2 separate regions of the Homo sapiens genome follow, and region 1 is linked to region 2. The links are contacts of gene promoters, found by promoter capture Hi-C in blood cells and fetal thymus (Javierre and others, 2016). All regions are on one chromosome and are shown on one strand. The core of a region is centred on a gene start or on the middle of the fragment in contact, and the rest is flanking DNA. Distances in the headings are between cores, read along the strand shown. Region 1 holds the start of QARS1 (glutaminyl-tRNA synthetase 1). Region 2 holds the start of TREX1 (three prime repair exonuclease 1).

What was found. Contacts are between HindIII fragments. The CHiCAGO score rates a contact against its expected background, and 5 or more counts as called.
Region 1: the fragment with the promoter of QARS1 here is called in contact with the fragment with the promoter of TREX1 in region 2 in 1 of 17 cell types (non-activated CD4 T cells); the score reaches 5.2 in non-activated CD4 T cells.

The regions. Positions count from the first base shown.
Region 1 is chr3:49,103,507-49,107,291 of GRCh38, reverse strand. QARS1 (glutaminyl-tRNA synthetase 1) reads left to right here and starts at 2,535. Exons shown (of 24, transcript NM_005051.3): 1 at 2,535-2,675; 2 at 2,821-2,968; 3 at 3,320-3,429; 4 at 3,586-3,661. The coding sequence starts at 2,559. RefSeq lists enhancers at 1,361-2,010, 2,204-2,363, 2,574-2,763, 3,313-3,785. The HindIII fragment of the contact is 7,394 bases long and covers 1-3,785 here.
Region 2 is chr3:48,464,628-48,467,479 of GRCh38, reverse strand. It overlaps TREX1 (three prime repair exonuclease 1), which reads right to left and starts at 1,250. Exons shown (of 2, transcript NM_033629.6): 1 at 1,171-1,250; 2 at 1-850. The coding sequence starts at 824. It overlaps ATRIP (ATR interacting protein), which reads right to left. Exons shown (of 13, transcript NM_130384.3): 11 at 2,818-2,852; 12 at 2,397-2,649; 13 at 1-1,993. The coding sequence ends at 1,926. It overlaps ATRIP-TREX1 (ATRIP-TREX1 readthrough), which reads right to left. Exons shown (of 15, transcript NR_153405.1): 12 at 2,818-2,852; 13 at 2,397-2,649; 14 at 1,171-1,993; 15 at 1-850. RefSeq lists enhancers at 1-440, 655-854, 441-1,322, 1,935-2,024. The HindIII fragment of the contact is 3,980 bases long and covers 1-2,852 here.

The DNA of each region.
Region 1 (3,785 bases), core at 1,286-3,785, 640 kb before region 2:
TTAGGTGCAGTGGCGGGCACCTGTAATCCCAGCTACTTGGGAGGCTGAGGCAGGAGAATCGCTTGAACCTGGGAGGCGGAGGTTGCAGGGAGCCGAGATCGCGCCACTGCACTCTAGCCTGGGCGACAGAGCAAGACTCCGTCTCAAAAAAAAAAAAAAAAAAAAAAGTTGCTGAAACTGGCCAAGTGTGGTGGCTTATGCCTGTAATCCCAGCACTTTGGGGCGAGGTGGGAGGATAGCTTGAGCCTAGGAGTTCAGGACCAGCCTGGGCAACATAGTGAGACCCTGTCTTTACCAAAAATATAAAAATTAGCTGGCTCTTATGGTATGCACTTGTAGTCCCAAATATTTCAGAGGCTGAGATGGGAGGATCGTTTGAGCCCAGGAGGTTGCTGGACCCTACCTCTGTCCATTCCACGACTGGGCCTTGCTGGCTGCTGCCTGGTTTTTCCACTTGGTCATCTTTGTCTTGACTTTTCCTGGAAGCAGTGCCAGGGGCTTATGCAGGCAAGCTAACCTCCAGACTGGGCCCATACAATTTAACATTTCTGCTTTGTGCAAGTCGTAGACATCTAGGGCACTAGCTGGATATCGACTGGTATGCTACCACTTGTGGCATTCTTGGTGACACTGGTGGGGCTACTGCCTCATTCTATGACTTGTAGCCATGGCGTCCACAGTGTACCATGAAGTAACCAGGGAAGGGAGTGCAGATCTTGATCTCATTGAGGGAGCCATCACTAGACCTGTAGGACTTGGTGATGGTGCTACAGTGAATCTATTGGCAGCATCAGGTACTGAGGAAATAGTGGCAGTGGCAGGCACTCTGCATGGCTTTGCTCACCATGGGCACCTTTATGGTGGGCTGGGTACTTGCAGCTTCAAATTTGGTGCACGGCTGGTGTGGCTATGGCTCTGCTTCTTGGTACCTGTCCTTAGCACCACTGGTCTGCATCCCCTGCTTAATTCCTGCACCTGGCCTTTCTCATGCAGTACACTGCAGGGCTAGGCATCTGGCTGGGGCCACGGGGCCATGGAGATGTGGGAAGCCCCAGGACAGCATTGGACCTGGATAGCGATACAGCATGTGGCCCTGGTCTGCACCTGGCATGTGATCATTAGGTGGTATCCAGATGTAGGCCCAGACTTGGAGGTTGGTCATTAATAATGGGATGTGGGCACAAAAGACACAGAATATAGATAAAGACTAGTCAGGATCCTGCCTATTCCTTGAAGGTCCAGAAGTATGAGCATCACCAATTCCTGCAAGAGCTCCAATCTCAAATGTGGGGATTTCCACCATCCCACCACCAGCTGCTCATTCTCTGCAACCCCCTACCTCAGTCCCTTACTACCTTAGTCCCTTTTCTCACACACACACAAAGTCTCTGTTCTGTTTCAGCCAGCAGGTCCTGGAAGTCCAGTGAGACTGTGGAAAGATCCCCAAGCACAACAGCTATAATCATGAAGCTATAACCATCTCATTTGTCCCACCCTCTCACAAGCTCAATAAAATATCCTCTCAAAGGCCTGCAGAGGGATTTCAAGGTCTAATTTGCTTGTGGTTTTCCTGATAATGCTTTGGCAAGAGGGTAAGTGTGGGATGAGATTTTTTTTTCTTTTCTTTTTTTTTTTTTGAGACAGTCTTACTCTGTTGACCAGGCTGGAGTGCAGTGGCACAATCTCGGCTCACTGCAACTTCCGCCTCCCAGGTTCAAGCGATTCTCCAGCCTCAGCCTCCTGAGTAGCTGGGATTACAGGCGTGCGCCATCACGCCCGGCTAATTTTTGTATTTTTAGTAGAGACAGGGTTTCACCATGTTGGCGAGGCTGATCTCGAACTCCTGGCCTCAAGTGATCCGCCCGCCTCGGCCTCCCAAAGTGCTGGGATTAAAGGCCTGAGCCACTGCGCCCGGCCAAGATTTTAAACCAAATCATCATAGAACTTATGTGAGGTCCCTCCTGGCCCAGACCCGTCCCTTCCCTTTCCTGGCCAGCTGTGTCCAAGTGGGCACCTGAAAACCGGCGGACTTATGGGGCCCCTGGATCGGTCATTCCACACATTCTCTACGATGGAGTCTGGATGAGGGATTTCCTGGGCTTCATTTGTTCAACTGTTTCCATGACAACTCCAAAGCTGTGGCGTCAAAAGCGTGACAGGGACTCGCATTTGCCCCCGAGGACAATTACTATATTGAGATGGAGTTACCAGGGCTGAAGTAGAAAAGTCAGAGCAAAACCACGCCTGTGTCTTCCTCCTGCCTCAGGGACGAACACCTTCCTTCCAGGTCCGTGGCAAATATCTCCAAAAGCCCTGCCGCCTGCCAACACCCCTTCAAGTTCCCAGTTCCACGGAGGCGGAAGCAAAGCCCCCGGAAAGGCCGGTTTGTCCGCCCTGTGTTGTTTAAAGGGGATAGACGACCTTGGAGCGCCCCGCCCCCTCCCGCCAAGGAAGGACCCCATTGGCTCTCCCCGGAGGCTTCACTCTCATTGGTCAGCGAGTGAATGCCGACCTGCAGACTGGGGCCTAAGTTTCTTTTAGTTTCCGGTGTCTCTGCAATGGCGGCTCTAGACTCCCTGTCGCTCTTCACTAGCCTCGGCCTGAGCGAGCAGAAGGCCCGCGAGACGCTCAAGAACTCGGCTCTGAGCGCGCAGCTGCGCGAGGCCGCTACTCAGGTGCGAGCCCCTCTGCCCCCGGCCTGGTTTGCAGACCATGCTGCAACGCAGCGCGGGGCGGGGTCCAGATCCCGACCTGCCCCGTTTGTCCCGCCCTTTCCTCTCACTGAGCGCGGGGCTTCTCTCTTGACCCCTCTGACCTCAGGCTCAGCAGACCCTGGGTTCCACCATTGACAAAGCTACCGGGATCCTGTTATATGGCTTGGCCTCCCGACTCAGGGATACCCGGCGTCTCTCCTTCCTTGTAAGCTACATAGCCAGTAAGAAGATCCACACTGAGCCCCAGCTAAGCGGTGAGACCCCTACCTGTCCTGCCAGTTCGCACCAATGCCTCCCTTCAGCCAAGACCCCTGTCTTCCCTTTTTGCCAAGTCCTCCAGTTTCTTTCTAGACACCTAGTTCTGCACAGGCACTGAGGCATGGAAGGGGTGGCCTATGGTGAGACTGACACGGGAACTGTCAGGGTCTGAGGGGGGATCCACTCTCGACACGTGCTTCTTTCTTCCCTGTGTTCTCTAGGGTGGTGGTGCCAGGGCTTAACTTTTCAGGAGGCCAGACTATCCTTGGAGTTTCATGAGATTAGGACCCTGTCTGTCCACTTCTTGGAGCAGAGATGCCACAAACTCACGGGCTCTTTCTTCTCAGCTGCCCTTGAGTATGTGCGGAGTCACCCCTTGGACCCCATCGACACTGTGGACTTCGAGCGGGAATGTGGCGTGGGTGTCATTGTGACCCCAGAGCAGATTGAGGAGGCTGTGAGTCTTTCCCCAGGCATCGTCTGCCTCCCCAGTCCTGGCCATGGAAAGGAGTGGCTCAGTTTCCCTCCTCAGGAAGACCCAGAGTGAGGGTGTGGGTTCCCAGAATATCTCTAAAGGTGGCTTTCCTGAACCACATGGTTTGGCTTTCTGCAGGTGGAGGCTGCTATTAACAGGCACCGGCCCCAGCTCCTGGTGGAACGTTACCATTTCAACATGGGGCTGCTGATGGGTGAGCAGGGCCTGGAACGGGGCTATATTGTTCTCTCTGGTCATGCCTTTTCTTCTGGGCACGAGTGAGAAGGAGGTGGGGGAAGGAACAGGAGTGACTTAAAGTGGTCTGGCTGGGCTCAGGC
Region 2 (2,852 bases), core at 1-2,500:
GGAGGAAGATCCTTGGTACCCCTGCTCTCTCCAAGGCTGGGACTAGTGTTCCTGGTTGTGGCCAGGTGTGCAGTGGTTGTGACAGCAGATGGTCTTGGCTTGGTCCTAGCAGAGGCTGTGACCCCATACATGGGCCTGATGGTGCCGAAAGGCCTGGCGTGAGCATCCACCCACCGCAGCAGGGCCTGTGGTCTCCACTGACAGATGCTGAGCAGGGCCAGGACATCACCCTCAGCCGTGTGCGAGTCTGGAGGGGACTGCCCATACAGGCGAGTGTAGATGCTGCCTAGGCTATAGCTCTTCCTTGGGCCGTGTTCTGAGGGGCTGCTTGCTCGCTCCAGGGCCTTCAGCGCAGTGATGCTATCCACACAGAAGGCACCATCCAGAGCACTGGTGAGGCCCAGCATAGCCAGCTCTGCTTGGAGCAGGGGGAAGTCGTAGCGGTCACCATTGTGTGCCACCAGGCACCAGGGCTGTGGCTGGCGCCGCAGGAAGGCTAGGAGCAGGTTGGCCAGGTTGTCATCAAAACATTGACGCCCATGCGCTGCCAGCACAGCTGTGCTCAGACCTGTGATCTCGCTGGCTGCAGGGCTGCAGGCCTTCCCCGGAGCCACACACAGGGAGAGCTTGTCTACCACACGCGGTGGTGGAGGAACTGTGGGAGGTGGCCCCTGAGAGGTGGGGGGGCTCTCCAGGGCACATCTGTGGACAGCCAGCAGGCACAGCTCCGTGACCTTGGGCTGGGAGAAGGGCAAGCCAGTGGCCTCCATGTCGAAAAAGATGAGGGTCTGCATGGGCCCCGGGGGCAGGGCCTGCGAGCCCATGGTTGGGTACGTACCTGCTGCTGAGCCTGGAGAGGAGCATGGGGTGGGTGTGTGAGTGCCCAGTGTTAAGATCCGAAGGGGAGGGAGTGGGGTAGGGGGTGGGCAGAAGCACATCTCAGGCCTTCCCTGCACAATCCTGCCCTGTCTGCGAGCTCCAGGGCCCATTTTCAGGCAGGAAGTTGGAGAGGGTGAGGTGGTTTCCTTAGTGGGACCAGCACATTCGACTGTCTGAGAGGGTCTCCCTCTTCACATGACTCGGCCCCTCCCCTAGTGCCCCCTTAGTCTGGGGTGGGGGAACCCATGGCCCTCCTGCCCTGCGCCATCCCATTGTGGGGGCCACACTCACCGTAGCAGGCAGGCAGGCAGGCAGTAGTGACTCGGCTGCACACTCTCCCGCGGCTCTCGCTGGCAGCAGTGGCGGGAAGTGAAACTTGGCGTGGGCCCGCCTACAGGCCCACGTGAGCCAGGCCCGCCCTGCTCGTCAGCCTGCCTGGTCTGTCCCTCTCACCACCATCCGTTCCCCCCCACACCCACTCCCCTGCTCCCGGGGGACCCCAGAGGCCTTCCAAGATCCACAGCTGTGGCCTGCTGGTGGCACAATGCACCGGGGCCATCATACCAGTGACAGGCAGCTGGAAGGACCAGGGCAGTGGTGCCAGACCAGCTCCCGGTCTTACACACTGCTGGGAGCCCCTGCTGCGGCCCTTTCATGCCCACCTGTGGGTCCCAGTTTCCCAGGCTTTCCTGGTTTAGGCCTGGGCCAAGAGCCACCTCCTTCCCTGCCACACAATGGTTTCTTCCCATGGCCCCAGCCCAAAGCAATGACTCAGGACAATTCCACAGGCAGGGCAGGGCTCCTTCCTCAAGGCAGATCAGTTACCATGGGGACGGGCTCAGCAACAGCCAGGGACAGGAAGAAGGATCCCAGCCACTCAGGGTCCGGGTCCTGCTCCACCCCTCCCACTCCGCCAAACAGATCAGACTCAGGAAACAAGGCCAGCCAGTTCTCTGGGCAGTTCCTGCTGGTCACTGCTTTAATCAGTTGATGTGGTAAGGAAAGGAGTGGTGCTGGTGCCACCATGTGGCTGGACACTCAGGGCCTCAGCCACACTCCACCTCGGGGTCTTCCACATCGGTTTCCGCGGCACAGAGGTCATCCAGGGCTGCCTCTGAGACAAAAAGGAGAGGTTCCTGGTGAGGGCCCAAAGGTGCCAGGGCCTAGGGCAGGTCCCACCTCTCCTCCCCCAACGTCCGCAGGAACTAACCAGTCCCTTCCACACCCAGGCCCTGCTCCCTCAGCTACTGCAAACAAAGTGATACAAAGGCAATTCAGACACGGCTATTTCTGGAAAAACCGTGGCTCTGCCAGGCACACTCAACAGATAGATGCAAAAGGCATCCCAATATGCTTGGAGAAGAACTGAGGCAGGAAGATAAAAGAAAATGGCCCCAGTGCTGGAACAGGCTGCAGTGGGCGGGGGCCTGCTGAGGGGACACCCAGGAATCTGACTTGTTGGGGAACCTCTGGAAGAAGCCATGGGGGCTGGGCAGGATGGCCTCTGGCAGGCTTACCTTCACAGTCCGTCACATCAGGAAGCCCTCGGATGAGCATGCTGACCCCCGGCATCACCTGGTCAAACTGATGCAGGACCTCCACGCAGTGCATCATGAAGAGCTTGTCCTTCTGCGATAGGCCGTGCAGCAGCAGCACCGTGTCCCGCAGACAGCGCACTGTCCGCCTCTGCTGGTCGGTCCTTGGGGGTCCCCCTGCCCTCCGCACTGTCAGCCACTGTCTGTGCAACATCACCGTGAGCGCTCTGACCACCTGAGAGAGGGGGGGTGCAGACTGAGGCCTGGTGCCACCATGGCCTGCACCCTAACAATCCGCTCAGCCTAGCCACCTCACGTGAGGGGGTTTGCAGTGGGGCCTACAGTCCTTGCACGGGGCCCCCTTACCACCAGAGCTGCCAGCTGTTGGCCCCTACCCACTCACCTCCACATTACACTGGCAGTTGGAGCCAGTGACTG